3 separate regions of the Homo sapiens genome follow, and all the other regions are linked to region 1. The links are contacts of gene promoters, found by promoter capture Hi-C in blood cells and fetal thymus (Javierre and others, 2016). All regions are on one chromosome and are shown on one strand. The core of a region is centred on a gene start or on the middle of the fragment in contact, and the rest is flanking DNA. Distances in the headings are between cores, read along the strand shown.

Region 1 (4,351 bases), core at 953-3,452:
CACGCCTGGCTAATTTTTTTGTATTTTTAGTAGAGACGGGGTTTCACCGTGTTAGCCAGGATGGTCTCGATCTGACCTCGTGATCCGCCGGCCTCAGCCTCCCAAAGTGTTGAGATTACAGGTGTGAGCCACCGTGCCCAGCACTTTGTGCATAATTATTGAAATGTTCACATGACATTGTGATCTGAGGGTAGGGGCTGTATCTCATCATCTTTCTAGTACCAATGGCATGCCTGGCACAAAATAAACACAAGTTGGTTGAACTTCATTGGGATGCAGTGGCTGATACCTGCAATCCCAGCACTTTGGGAGGTGGAGGTGGGTAGATCATTTGAGGTCAGGAGTTCGAGACCAGCCTGGCCAACATGGTGAAACCCTGTCTCTATTAAAAATACAAAAAAATTTAGCCAGGCATGGTGGTGCACACTTGTAGTCCCAGCTACTCCGGAGGCTAAAGCAGGAGAATCACTTGAGCCTGGGAGGTGGAGGTTGCAATGGGCCAAGATCACGCCACTGCACTCTACCCTGGGTGACAGAGTGAGACTCTGTCTCAAAATAAATAAATAAATAAATAAATAAAAGTTGCTTGAACTTAATATCAAGAATTTTGAAGAAAAGGAAGCAAACAAATACCAGGCATGAGCTGAGGGGGTAAATTAACATTAACTGAATGCCTATGATGTGCCATAAACCATAAACTACCTCAAGGTGGGTATTATCCTTGTTTCAGAGAAACTCAAGTTAAGCTACTTGTTCAAGGTTAGTCAGTGACAGAAACCAGTCTTCCTGACTCCAAAGTCCACAGTTTCTCTCTCTTTTTTTTTTTTTTTTTTTGAGATGGAGTCTTGCTCTGTCACCCAGGCTGGATGGAGTACAGTAGAGCAATCTCGCTTACTGCAGCCTTCAACTCCTGGGTTCAAGCAATTCTCCTGCTTCAGCCTCCCGAGTAGCCAGCATTACAGGCATGCACCACCATGCCCAGCTGTTTTTTTTTTTTTTTTTTTTTGTTATTTTTAGTAGACACAGGGTTTCCCCATGTTGGCCAGGCTAGTCCTGAACTCCTGACCTCAAGTGATCTGCCTGCCTCTGGCCTGGGATTACAGGCTGTGCCACTGCGCCCAGTCCAAAGTCCATGCTTTCTACAGGACTTTTCCTTTGCTCCTACAGATGTCTGGCCCTAAACAGAAAAAAAGCCTTTTCAGTGTGGCGACCTAAGGGAGAAAAGACATGGCTGCAAATCTACCTTCCAAGGAAATGTGTCTTGGGGAAACATTAATGAAGCAAACTAAGGCCTAAGCTAAGGCCTAAGCACTTAAGTAATAGCTTTACTCAGTGCCCCTGCCACAACCAATAAGGTACTTGAGGCGACTTCAGAGGGGTTGATTTGTCTCTTCAGGAGAGACACACATCTGCCCTGACTCTTAGGGCTTGTTTCTATTAAGTACCCAGCTAGATTAGGATGAAGTCACTTCTACCTTACCGGCTTATCTTCTTAAGAGCAGCTCCCTCTCTGACAAACTGGCCAGATGCTCAGCGTCTGGAAAAGTGAGTGAGAACCTCCAACGTAGGGTAGGTGTTTTGAGGATTTATGAGGTGGGCAATGGTGGGTACTGGGGAAGGAAAACAAAGTGAAGGGCCGGAGATCTAGGTGGGCCCAATTCCGAGAGGCAAGCGAGGCTGCGGGCACTGAGAGGGCAGCGGCAGCCAGTGCTGGGTGACCGTCAGGGTCTCACCTTTCACTGCCAGGCGGATGTTCAAACAGAGTTTGGAGAAGATGCGACTCCTTTCGACGTCCTTCGGACCCTTGATGTGCCTGACTTTGGACCACTTGTTGTGCCCGGCGGGGACAGCCGCGGTAAAGTGCAGCGTCCTGCCCGGAGCGGCACCGCAGCCCCGGGGCTCGGGGTGGGAGGGCCGGGGGTCGCGCGGAGGAGCCGCCCTGACCCCGGGGCCTCGTGCCAGCAAGCATCGGGCAGCGGCCCTGCTTAGGCTGGCAGCAGCCCAAGCCGACATCGGTCCCGACCCTGGGGTTCAAGCTGCTAGCAGCAGCGGCCAACGCCGGCGCGTCTCTTCCACTGCCGGAACAAGCAGTTCCGGACCCCGCGGCCGCCTGTGCCGGTCACCTGAGATCCAAAGGCTTGGGCCCGCCCGGGGCGGCTCAACAGCTAATGACCCTACACTGTCCCCGCGGCACCCGGGACTGGGGGCCCTTGATGGCGTAGCACACTTCCTTTACCGGGTTCGCTCCAAAAACACGTCCCCACTGCCCGCAAAGTCCGTTCCGTGGCTGCACGGTACTCGCTCCTCTCTTGCCCTTGAGCAGATCTAGTTAGTGCTCAAGCCCTCACGGTTGCCTAGAGAGCGCCGGACTTTGTTTCTCATAATGTTTTAGTGGAGACACATCTGAGTTATGAAACTGACTTTGCTTCCAAATTGCTGCCTAAATCTGAGCAAGTCCAGAATGATATTTTGTTGTTGCCTCATTGTACTGGGAAAGAAACTGCTGCCAGAGAAGTGAATTGCCCAAATGTTTAATCTCTCTGAACGTCTTCCCTATTTATAAATAAGGATCTAATATTTGCTTTATCAACATAGGAAAGTTAGAAACACAAAATGAGCCCTTAGAGCTTTAAAGTAATAAAGTTTTATGTAAATAGCCACAGTGCACTTAAGCCCCTAGATGCAAGAGATGGTTTGGGACAGACTCAGATGAGTCACAGGCCTTTGGGAGAGGGAGAATGATCAGACAAGCCCTTTGGAGCTAAACTCCCCTCTTCATTTTCTCTCTGCTGTCTCGAAAGAGAAAACCGAATCCGTTAGAAGATGGAGAGAAACAAAGCGGCAGCTGCTGAAAAGCTTTGTAGTGACTCCCATGCTGGTGAGATTAAGTCCAAAGGGCATGACATATCAGGTAGAGAAGCAGGACAGCCGGGCGCGGTGGCTCACGCCTGTAATCCCAGCACTTTGGGAGGCTGAGGCAGACGGATCGCTAGGTCAGGAGTGCCAGACCAGTCTGACCAACATGGTGAAACCCCGTCTCTACTAAAAATACAAAAAAATTAGCCGGCCGTGGTGGCGCGCGCCTGTAATGCCAGCTACTCAGAAGGATGAGGCAGGAGAATCGCTTGAACCCGGGAAGAGGAGGTTGCAGTGAGCCGAGATCGCGCCACTGCACTCCAGCCTGTGCGACAGAGCGAGAATCCAACTCAAAAAAAAAAAAAAAAAAGAGAGAGAGAGAGAGAGAGAAGCAGGACAGTGTGAAGTCCAAGTTTGTGCCCTCTGCAGTTAGACTGGGTGGCTTCAAACCCTGGTTGTTCCATTTTCTAGTGTATCCTTGGGCAAGTTCCTTTACTTTCCTGTTTCAGTTTCCTTACCATAGAATGGCCTTGTGAGGACTAAATGGGATAATGGATGCAAAGCACAAAAGCATAGATTTTTTATTTTTTATTATATAAGAACCTCCATGGGGCTGGGTGCGGTGGCTCACGCCTGTAATCCTAGCACTTTGGGAGGCCGAGGCTGGCAGATCACTTGAGGTCAGGAGTTCAAGACCAGCCTGGTCAACATGGTGAAACCCCGTCTCTACTAAAAATACAAAAATTAGCCAGGTGCGGTGGGTGCCCATAGCCCTTCATACATGCTTGCACCTTAGCACTTACCTTTTAAAAAAATATCAAAATGTTTATATCTGTTTCTACCGTAATACTAAATTCTCTGAGAGTAGGACTGTACTTCCTATGCCCAACACAGTTCTCATTTTTTAAAAAATTAAGTTTTGACATATTTCACAGATCACACAGATCACCAATTCAAAGTGTACAATGTGTTATAGAATATTCAGAGCTGTGCACAATTGATTTTACATTTTCATCATCCCCAAAAGAAGTCCTGTACCCATTAGCAATCATTCCCTATTTCCCCCCAATTCCCACAGCCCTAGGCAATCACCAATTTACTTCTGTCTCTGTGGGTTTGCCTCTTCTGGACATTTAATATGAATGGGCCCACACACTATGTGGCCTTTGGTAACTGGCTTCTTTCACTTAGCATGATGTTTTCAGGATTCTTGCATGTTGTAGCATGTATCAGTATTTCATTTCTATTGCCAAATAATATTCCATTGTATGAATATACCACGTTTTATTTATCTGTTCATCAGGCAATGGACATGTGGTTGTTTCCACCTTCTATGATGAATAATGAGGCTGTGAACATTCATGTACACATTGCTGTGTGGACCTATGTTTTCACTTCTTTTAGTTATATACCTAGGAGTGGAATTGCTGGGTCATATCATAACTATGTTTAACCTTTTGTGGGATTGCCAGACTGTCTTCTAAAGTGGTTGTAT
Region 2 (4,620 bases), core at 851-3,350, 110 kb before region 1:
ACAGATCTCTTTGGGAAATGCTGGGTTAAACACAGTAAGTTTTCTTACTACAGAATTTCTCAGTGCCTTTAATATGGACGTACACCTTGTGATCCTCCATGAGAGAGTGTGCTGCATTTCCTAACTTCACTGGACATGGAAACTTTTTCCATCCAACTGGCAGAATCAGAGTTCCGTGGGGCCTACTTTGGGGAAATCCTGCACTGAAACAACAGGAAAATGGTCAAGAGACAGGAAGAGGCATTTTCACCTTGGAGAACGCTCACATGACTGATAAATATATGAAAAGATCCTCATCTTCATTAGTAATCAGGGAAATGTAAATCAAATCCATGAGACTGGCAAAAATTAAGAAATCTGAAAATACCAAGTGTTGGGGAAAAGATAAATTAATAAGAACACATGTGGCCGGGCACAGTGGCTCATGCCTGTAATGTTAGCACTTTGGGAGGCCAAGCTGGGTGGGTCACTTGAGGTCAGGAGTTCAAGACCAGCTGGGCAACATGGCAAAACCCCATCTCTACAAAAAAATACAAAACTTAGCCAGGCATGGTGGCTCACACCTATAGTCCCAGCTACCTGGGAGGCTGAGGCAGGAGAATTGCTTGGACCCAGGAGGCGGAGCTTGCATTGAGCCAAGATCGTGCCACTGCACTCCAGCCTGGTGACAGAGTGAGACTCCGTCTAAAAAAAAAAAAAAAAAAAACCACGTACGTTGCTGGTGGGAGTGTAAATTGGTATAACCATTTTGGAAAATAATTTGGCATTGTCTCAAACAGTTGATTGTTCATATGCTCTGTCACTAGCAATTCCAGCCACTCCTAATTACAAGCTTTAGTCAGGATACATATTCAAACATGTTTATAGTAGCACAGTCCATAATAGCAGAACTGAAAAACAACCCAAATGAGCCATCAAAGTTGGAATTGGATAAACTGAGATATATTCATGTGCTGAATATATGATACAGCAGTGAAAATGGGCGAACTACAGTGAAATACAACAATATGGCCAAATCTTAGAAATTTAAAAATTGATTAAATTAGAAATGGAATTTGGTGACAGGGCTTAATTTTGCTTGACTAGGTTCCTCTTATTGCCAGGGTAAGTGGTGAGGGAGACAGAGCCCACTTGAGGGTTTCTTTCCCCATCAGCAGCATCAACTGTTTTGAAACCACATACAGCCAATAATCTCAGCTCCTGCCAATAATCTCAGCTACTTGGGAGGCTGAGGCAGGAGGATCAATTGAGCCCAGGAGTTCGAGGCCACGGTGAGCCAGGAACTCACCACTGCACTTTAGCCTGAGCGACAAAGAGATAACCCATATCTTAAAAACAACAGCAACAAAACAACAAACAAACCAGATACACGTGAAACGTCAGCCAACAGGGTGGTAGATTAATCTCACTGGTTTGGGCCTGGGTCCTGTGCCATGTACTCACGTTTTGATTTTTGGCAAGTCACATAATCTCCTTGGCCCTCGTTTTTGTTAGTGAAAAGTGGAGATAAGATCTGTCCCGGCTACTTGACTGAGCTATGGAGGAATCATGTGCAATTTGGAAGTGCTCTGGAAAGTATACTCTGGTCATCTTACAGGTATAGAGCACCGTCATCTTTATGGTTTCCTCTGCAGAGCCGCTTCCCAAAGAGTTGTTCAAGCACCGCCTTTTCAGAACACTCTCAGCTCGTGCTCTTCTGGGTAGTGCTGGGTCAGGAGCCTCTCATACTTTCACAAAGGACTTTTTCTGCCTGGAGGTCAGGTTTATGAGTGCAGCACATGAAACATGAGCTGGCCCAGGTTTCTCCATTTCAGTTAGATGTGCATCTAAAGAAAGAGAATCTAAAAGAAAAGCAGTCACAGTCCCTAAATCATACACATAAATTTAGGTGTGGAAGAAGGAAACAGTCCATTAAGCTGAAAGAAGAGCTGTTGGTCTGCCGTGTGTTTTGCACAAACTCAGACATGGCTGGACACCTTCCTCTAGGACCTTAGAGGCCAGAGTTGTGACACATCCTAAGTGGCTGGACTCCAGCTTCACTCACAGCACACGTGGGCAGGAACGAGGGAGCAGGCCATGTCAGCTGCCTGGACGATGCCTGAGACCTGACAGCTCTGTGCCTTGCCTGCAGCTCAGGGCATCAGGGTTCTCCCACTTCACTTGGAAATGTCAGGCAATGACTGGCCCGGGCTCTTGGTTTGCTAAAGAGGGGGCTACTCCTGGCCACATTTTCCCTAGAGCAAGATTCAGCGTTTGACCTTTTGGGATCTTGTGGTGAGGACCTTAAAAATAGGATCCTAATGCATCAGGAAATTCATGAGAACCCCTACCTCTCCACCTGCTTCTCTTTTCCAAACATGCTTTCATTCTCTAGACATCCCTTCTCCAAGTGAGAATTTCATAGCTTTTAGCAAATGCATTGATTGTTGGAAAGGACAAGCAGATTAACATTTGATGGGAACAGGTCCTTGTCTCCTCATTTGTAGACAACCCTAACACTTGCTCTGATATTAGTGCTGATTACTACCCTGAATGTAGTGTTTTGTTTCTCTTCAAATAGTGCTGGCACTGAGTCGGGATTTGTGTGTGTGTTTAGATGCCAGTCTCCTCGTGGGTCTGAATTACCACCTTCACCCCACTCCCATCCCACCCCCAGTTTTCTCTACTAACCTATTTTTCTTTTTCTTTTTTAGACCAATGATGCGAGCTCAGAGTCAATAGCATCCTTCTCTAAACAGGAGGTCATGAGTAGCTTTCTGCCAGAGGGAGGGTGTTACGAGCTGCTCACTGTGATAGGTATGTGCAGGGGCCGTCCTTACTCTCCTGCTTTCTGCTCCAGGGGCTGCTGCAGCTTTCTCAGCAGCCCCAGATGTGTGTACAGCAGAGGCCATCCACTAGTTAGGAGGATTCATGGGCACAGACTTGCTTCTGTGGGTCTTCTCTGTTTTTTTATGCCAAGTATGGGAAGAGATCAAACTTCCAGGAAAGAAGCTCTTTTGCCATCTTTCCTTTGTGGCTGCCATGTTTCCGGTGTCCTGGCCATAGTGAGTCAGAAAGGTTGGCTGAGAAGGAACTGATGAGAGAAAAATCAAGAAATGTGAGCCATGAACATAACAGTTAAATTCTGCTGGGAAAAGGAAAAAAAAAAAAGTAACAGTAGTGAAAAATTTAACATTAAGTTTCTTTTGAAATCAAGTCCCTTTTTTAAAGGAAAATTTTCTTAAAACCTTTTGTTGTTCTTGTCCTTGCGTATGGCATTCCCTTTTTCTTTTAGGCAAAGGATTTGAGGACCTGATGACTGTGAATCTAGCAAGGTACAAACCAACAGGAGAGTACGTGACTGTACGGAGGATTAACCTAGAAGCTTGTTCCAATGAGATGGTAACATTCTTGCAGGTAATAAACCATGAGTGTGTCACATGGAGGGAGGGTGGGCTCTTGGCTCTGATAGGAATTACAAGGAATTACAAAGAAATGAAGGGAGACTAAACGTTCGGAAGTTATGGAAGCTTTCAGTGGAGAATCCTGGCCATTTGGCACTAAGGATTGGGCTGAAATGCTGCTCAGCCTAATTTATATTTCCCTTTTCTTCTCCAAACACTCCCTTCTGGCTTTTTTATTCATTTATTTATTATTTAGAAAGAAGCTAAGTAACTTGCTCATGGCAGAGGCAGGATTCAAACCCAGGCCATCTTGTTCCAGACACAAGGTGCCTGCCCTGCCACCAGTGGCCATCTTCTGGCTCTCAGCCTCCTGTTTGCCTGATGTTCCTTTCTTTTTCTTTTCTTTTTTTTTTTTTTTGAGACGGATTCTCACTCTGTCACCCAGGCTGGAGTGCAGTGGCACGATCTCGGCTCACTGCAACCCCCACCTCCCAGGTTCAAGCGATTCTCCTGCCTTAGCCTCCCGAGTAGCTGGGACTATAGGCGCACACCACCATGCCCGGCTAACTTTTGTATTTTTAGAAAAGACGGGGTTTCTTCATGTTGGCCAGGCTGGTCTCAAACTCCTGACTTCAGGTGATCTGCCTGCCTTGGTCTCCCAAAGTGCTGTGATTACAAATGTGAGCCACCGCATCTGGCCTCTTTTTTTTCGAGACAGGGTCTCATTTTATTGCCCTGGCTGGAGTACAGTGGCAGGACCACGGCTTACTGCAGCCTTAACCTCCTGGGCTCAAATGATTCTCCTGCCTCAGCCCCCCAAGTAGCTGGGACTATAGGCACACCACACCTGACTAATTTTTGTATTTTTTGTAGAGACAGAGTTTCACCATCTTGCCCAGGCTGGTCTCAAACTCCTGAGCTCGAGCAATCAACTCACCTCAGTCTCCCAAAATGCTAGGATTACAGGTGTGAGCCACTATGCCCAGTCCTGACATTCCTTTCTATTCGAGAAGCAAGTAGCCACTCTCTCGTTAAACTGAGAGAGGGGGCAGGCATGGTAGCTCATGCCTGTAATCCCAACACTTTGGGAGGGCAAGGCAGGGAGATTGCTTGAGCCCGGGAGTTTGAGATTGCACTACCAAACTCCAGCCTGGGTGACAGACTGAGTCCCTGGCTCAAAAAATAAAACAAAACAAAACGGAGAGAGACTGTGAGTCTAGTAAGTGCTTGGGAGTTA
Region 3 (4,640 bases), core at 1,584-4,083, 110 kb after region 1:
GCACTGCAGCATGCAGGGGACACAGCACTGTGGGGAGGGAGGGGAAGGGCAACCACTGAGTGTGCGTAAGAGGGAATCTGGGGGCAGAAGCCCCTAGCATCGGGCCGTTCAGGCCATTCCTCTGCCTCCCATTTTCCTGAATGACTCCAGCCCCCACCACCTGTTGCTTTCTGACTGTACAAAGTGCTTGCTCTAGAGGCACTGGGACATTGTGTACTTTCTAGAGAATGTGTGGCCAGTGGGTTCCCATGTACACATGCTTTATCTCCCAAGATGGAGGCTCCCTGAAGGAAACAACTGTTTCTGTCAGGGGTGAGAGTGGGCGATTCTGCATCTCATGCGGCCCAACAGCGACAAACTTATTCACCCCAAGAATTCTTATGGCCAGGATGAATGGCAGCTGCAGAGCTGCCCAAACCAGAAGGTTCTACCGTCTCTCGTCAGTCCTTCCTTGTTCTCATTTACTTATTTATTTTTTATGAAATGGGGTCTCGCTATGTTGCCCAGGATGGTCTCGAACCCCTGAGCTCAAGCAGACCTCCTGCCTCGGCTTCCCAAAGTGCTGAGATTACAGGTGTGAGCCACCGCACCCAGCCCTTCCTTGTTGTTTAGCAAACCAATTCAAACTGCGGGAAATTCTCTCTTGGATCTAACTGGAAGCCTTTTGGCTCAGGTGAATCCTGTTTTTCTGTCATTCTCATCGGGGAGGGGGAAGGAAGAGCTGCCCAGCATCCTGGCCACAAGGCTGGGGATCTATCCAGCTTCTCCTCTGACTCCCCATAAAAGGGAAGACCCCACAAGGGCTCTCATCCCCCAGATCCTGTCTCCTCTCAGCCCTGTGGCTGAGTCCTCATGCCTGGAAGGGCCTGCACAGCCCAGGGAATCCCATCGGGTTTTGTTTCAGGCTCCCCGTGTCTGTTCTCCTTGTAAGAGACACTTCTTCAGCTGTGACAGATGGTCTTTGCCACTTCTCCCAAGTGGGAGGGACTTTTTTCTCTTCTCTTGAATCTGGGTGAACTTGTGACTTGTTCTAGCCAATAAAACATGGCAGAAGTGACTCTGGGCCAGTTTTGGACCTAGCCTTGAGAACTGGCTGCGTCAGTAGTTGCTGTGGGGGATGCTGGCTGCCAGGTAAATCTGCCCACCTCAGATTCCACGCTGGGAGGGCGCCCGAGCTAGCCTGGAGAGATGCCTGACCCACCTCCAGCCGTTCCAGCCATCTCACCCCAAGCACCCAACATGTGAGCCAAGAGGCCACTGGGAACATGTGCCCCAGCATCTGCCACATGGGAAAAACCGAGGACCTCAACCGACAGCCAGAACTGGGGCTCTGGACGTATGGCCCCCATTGAGCCATCCCGGCTGTGAGAGCTGCCCCCAACAGAGGGGGCCCTGTAGAGAAAGGCCATTTCCACTGTGTACTGCCTGAATTCCTGGCACATAAAATCATAAGCAAAATCAACTGGTTGTTTCGTAAGGCTAAGCTCTGGGGTGCTTGGTTGCACAGCAATAGGTAACTAAAACGCCATCCTCCAAGGAAGGCAGCTTCTGAGCCTGTCAGGGGTGAGAGTGGATCTGTACAGAGCACCCAACATCCTCGTGTGCCTCCCTGTGTCACAGCATGTGCCCCCAGGGAGAGGCCAGCTCCATGCAGGGGCTGCTCCCAAGGAGGGACGCGGGGCAGCCTACCATGCTCAAACCCAGGACTGGGACCTTGAGCACTTCCCAGCGGCCAGGCTGACAGAGCTGTTGCGTGCTTCAGAAGTCCCCATCAGGCGGATGGGGTTTTCCTGCCAGAAGCCAACACCTCTCTAGACACTCAGTCCCAAACTCTGGCCCTGTCCCCATCCTGCCCTGCTGGCTCCAGCTGGGGGACAGTAGTGGACCCTTTGCTTGGTTCATTTCCCTTGCCCGTGGGGCTCAGGAACGAGACCTGAGCCCTAGCTGGATGTACCGGAAGTCCTTGCCGTTGTAGAAGTCCCAGGCCGAGGCGTGGCAGACCACCTCCCGCCCGTCGGTTGGCTTCTCCAGCATCGACTTGTTCCAGAACTCAGGAGGCACGGGCAGCAGCCCCAGGGAGGTGAAGAAATCATCAGCCTCCTTAAACATCCTCCTGGGCGTCCAGCCCTGCAAGCAGAGGGAGTTCTGCCCAAACTGGGGGTTCCGGGGACAGACTGCGTGCTGCCGTGGGGATCCCGGGGGAGGGCTAAACTGGAGGGAACTCCTGAATCAGAGGGTCCCTCCCATCCCGGCGGGGCCTCCCTGCCCCTGGGCTGGTGCGGACCTGCTTTAGCATAGCCTCTGTGGTGTCCATCGAGGGGGCTGAAGGGAAGGGCACCACCAAGTCATAGATGTTGGACCAGGTCTGCGCCCACATGTTCCCTGGAGGCGAGTGTGGGGGACGGCAGAGAGAGGAAAGACAAATGTTACTTAGGCTCAATGCCCTCCTGCAGGAAGAGCGCTCCAGATCCCAGTCCTGCTAATCATAGTGGCATTTCTTGAGCACCTACTGTTTGCAAGCTTTGAGGCACACATCATCTTTGGTGTGCATATCCAGCCCAGTAGGTCATTACTGCCTGGCTCTAGGTGGGGGCCTTGCTGGTTATCAGGGAATCCAGGTGGTCTTCACTGTCCGTGAGCAGTGGAGACCAATGTGACTAGCAACTGCTGACATGTGAGGACATTACAGGTCCCCAGAACACCTACACCCCGGTGGCCACCTCTTATTGGCTCTGCACCAAGAACATTGTGTGAATTCACTTTCAATCCTGTCTGCACCCAGGTACTGTCACGATTCCCATTGGCTAGTAAAGGAAACAGGCTGGAGAGTTAAGTGACCGCCCCCCTCGCCGGGGGCCCACGGCTCCTAAGTGGCAGGGCTGGGATTGAAAGGCTGGCAGGCTGCTCTCTTCACCAGCCACTCTGCCATGTCCCCTCCGCACCACCTGAGGTCGGTGTCTGCAGCTCAGCAACTCTGACAGGAACCAGCCGTCTCCTTCAGGAGAGGCTGATGCCTCTGAGTTTAGTGTAAGAAAAGAGCCTAGTTCTCCACGACAGAGGAAAAGGAAGAAACTCAGGATGAATGGAAGGCTCAGAAACAGATTTGGACTCAAGGCTCTTTCCTAGCCAAGTGAGGTGAAGCTTCGGCTGACATCAGATGAAGTCTAAAGTGCAAACCAGTGAGAGAGGGTTAGAGCGATGAGTGATGGAGAGAACATGAGAGAGAAGAGGGAGAGAGCCAGGGAGAGAGCCAGAGAGAGAGACAGAGAGCGCATCAGTGTTAGGTTGCTCCCCTTTCCCCTTTTACCAATTGTCAGGGGCTGAGTTCTAAGGCCAGCTCTGCCCCAGCTCCCAGGCCACGCTGGGCATGTTGCTTTTCTTCCCGGGGCCTGTGTCTCCCAGTTGGTGAACTGACGTCCACTGTGACATCACCAGATGTTCTTTGGTCTCACCAGAGAGGGGCTGAAGAGGGCTGGACTCCCAGCCTGTGTGGGAGCTAGACCCACAGCCAGGCCGTCCTCTGGGGCCTCCCTTATAGTTTCTAAATGGTCTGAGGGCCTGTCTGGTCTCTCTGCTCCAGGAAAGTGTTCCTAACAGCCCATCAGGGACAGAGAACCAGTAGCCTCTGCTTTGCCTTACTCCCTACCATCCCTTACTGTCCTCACCGCCTACTTCACACATTCAGGGCATCTGAGATTGCAGCCCTTGGCAAAGGAGGGTCCAGGGTTGAAGTAGATTTACATTCTCAGGTTCTTCTTTGTTCCAGTTCCCTTGGCCTGAACACTGCGTCTGTCCTCTCATCCCCCACTTCCCATCTGTCAAACCCTGTCATCTTCCGAGGCCCTGCTCACAGGCCACCTCTTGGCAAAGCCTCCCCAGCTCCCACTCACAGCCTCTTCCTCGCCCTCTAAGATCACACAATGTTGTGATGGGTGCCGTGGTCTCCTGGACAAGATTATTAACTTCTTCCCCCATCCATGGTGACTTGCCCGACATAGATCTGCAGTGAATGTGGCACCAGATGCAAGTGGGGGGCTCCCCACTCCCAGCGCCCACCCCCCTCCAGCCTGGGCAACCATCCCCCACAGGGCTGGAGTCTCTCAGTCCCCAGCCTGCTCCCTACCCTCTAGTCAGCCCTGTCCCAACCCTCACTCACACTGTGGTCCGTCTTTACCCTCCTCAAGGCCCGACATGTGCCCTTACCCAGCAGGTGAGCAGGAATGGGCCCCTCCAGGTTGATGTGCTGGGCCCCGTAGTGACGGTGCAGGGCCCGGCGCACGTAGGCATGCAGGTTGAGGTAGAGTGGCTGCAGCTCCTGGAAGAGCCGCTCCAGGTCTTGCTCCAGGGATGGTGTCTCGTACATAGACCTCCACGAGTCCCCTGCATCTACATAGCCTACAGAGGGGACACAGCCAGGCTCTCCCAACACCACATTACCTGCCTCCTCCAGGGATCTACCTTTTCCTAGGCTTGGGGTTTCACAGCACCTCTTTGAGGAAAATGAAGGGACCCAAGTGCCAGTGATGTTGGCAGCAGGGACTCACCATTGAGCCGGGCAGCCTGGTTGATGAGTTCCACGTATTTCGGGTAAAACTGGAGGATGGCTCTCCCCGCCTTGTCTCGCCAGCCCTCCCATGCCC

What was found. Contacts are between HindIII fragments. The CHiCAGO score rates a contact against its expected background, and 5 or more counts as called.
Region 2: a contact is called between a fragment that was not itself captured here and the fragment with the promoter of TACO1 in region 1, in 1 of 17 cell types (non-activated CD4 T cells). The highest score is 5.0, in non-activated CD4 T cells.
Region 3: a contact is called between a fragment that was not itself captured here and the fragment with the promoter of TACO1 in region 1, in 1 of 17 cell types (endothelial precursors). The highest score is 9.5, in endothelial precursors.

The regions. Positions count from the first base shown.
Region 1 is chr17:63,598,746-63,603,096 of GRCh38, reverse strand. It overlaps TACO1 (translational activator of cytochrome c oxidase I), which reads right to left and starts at 2,202. Exons shown (of 5, transcript NM_016360.4): 1 at 1,734-2,202. The coding sequence starts at 2,013. The HindIII fragment of the contact is 11,259 bases long and covers 1-2,858 here.
Region 2 is chr17:63,712,182-63,716,801 of GRCh38, reverse strand. It overlaps STRADA (STE20 related adaptor alpha), which reads left to right. Exons shown (of 13, transcript NM_001003787.4): 5 at 2,694-2,796; 6 at 3,275-3,396. Among named protein-coding and RNA genes, the nearest start is that of LIMD2, 14 kb to the right of the region's middle. The HindIII fragment of the contact is 2,532 bases long and covers 835-3,366 here.
Region 3 is chr17:63,488,696-63,493,335 of GRCh38, reverse strand. ACE (angiotensin I converting enzyme) reads right to left here. Exons shown (of 25, transcript NM_000789.4): 16 at 4,545-4,640; 17 at 4,204-4,395; 18 at 2,285-2,382; 19 at 1,955-2,127. Among named protein-coding and RNA genes, the nearest start is that of ACE, 14 kb to the right of the region's middle. The HindIII fragment of the contact is 621 bases long and covers 2,523-3,143 here.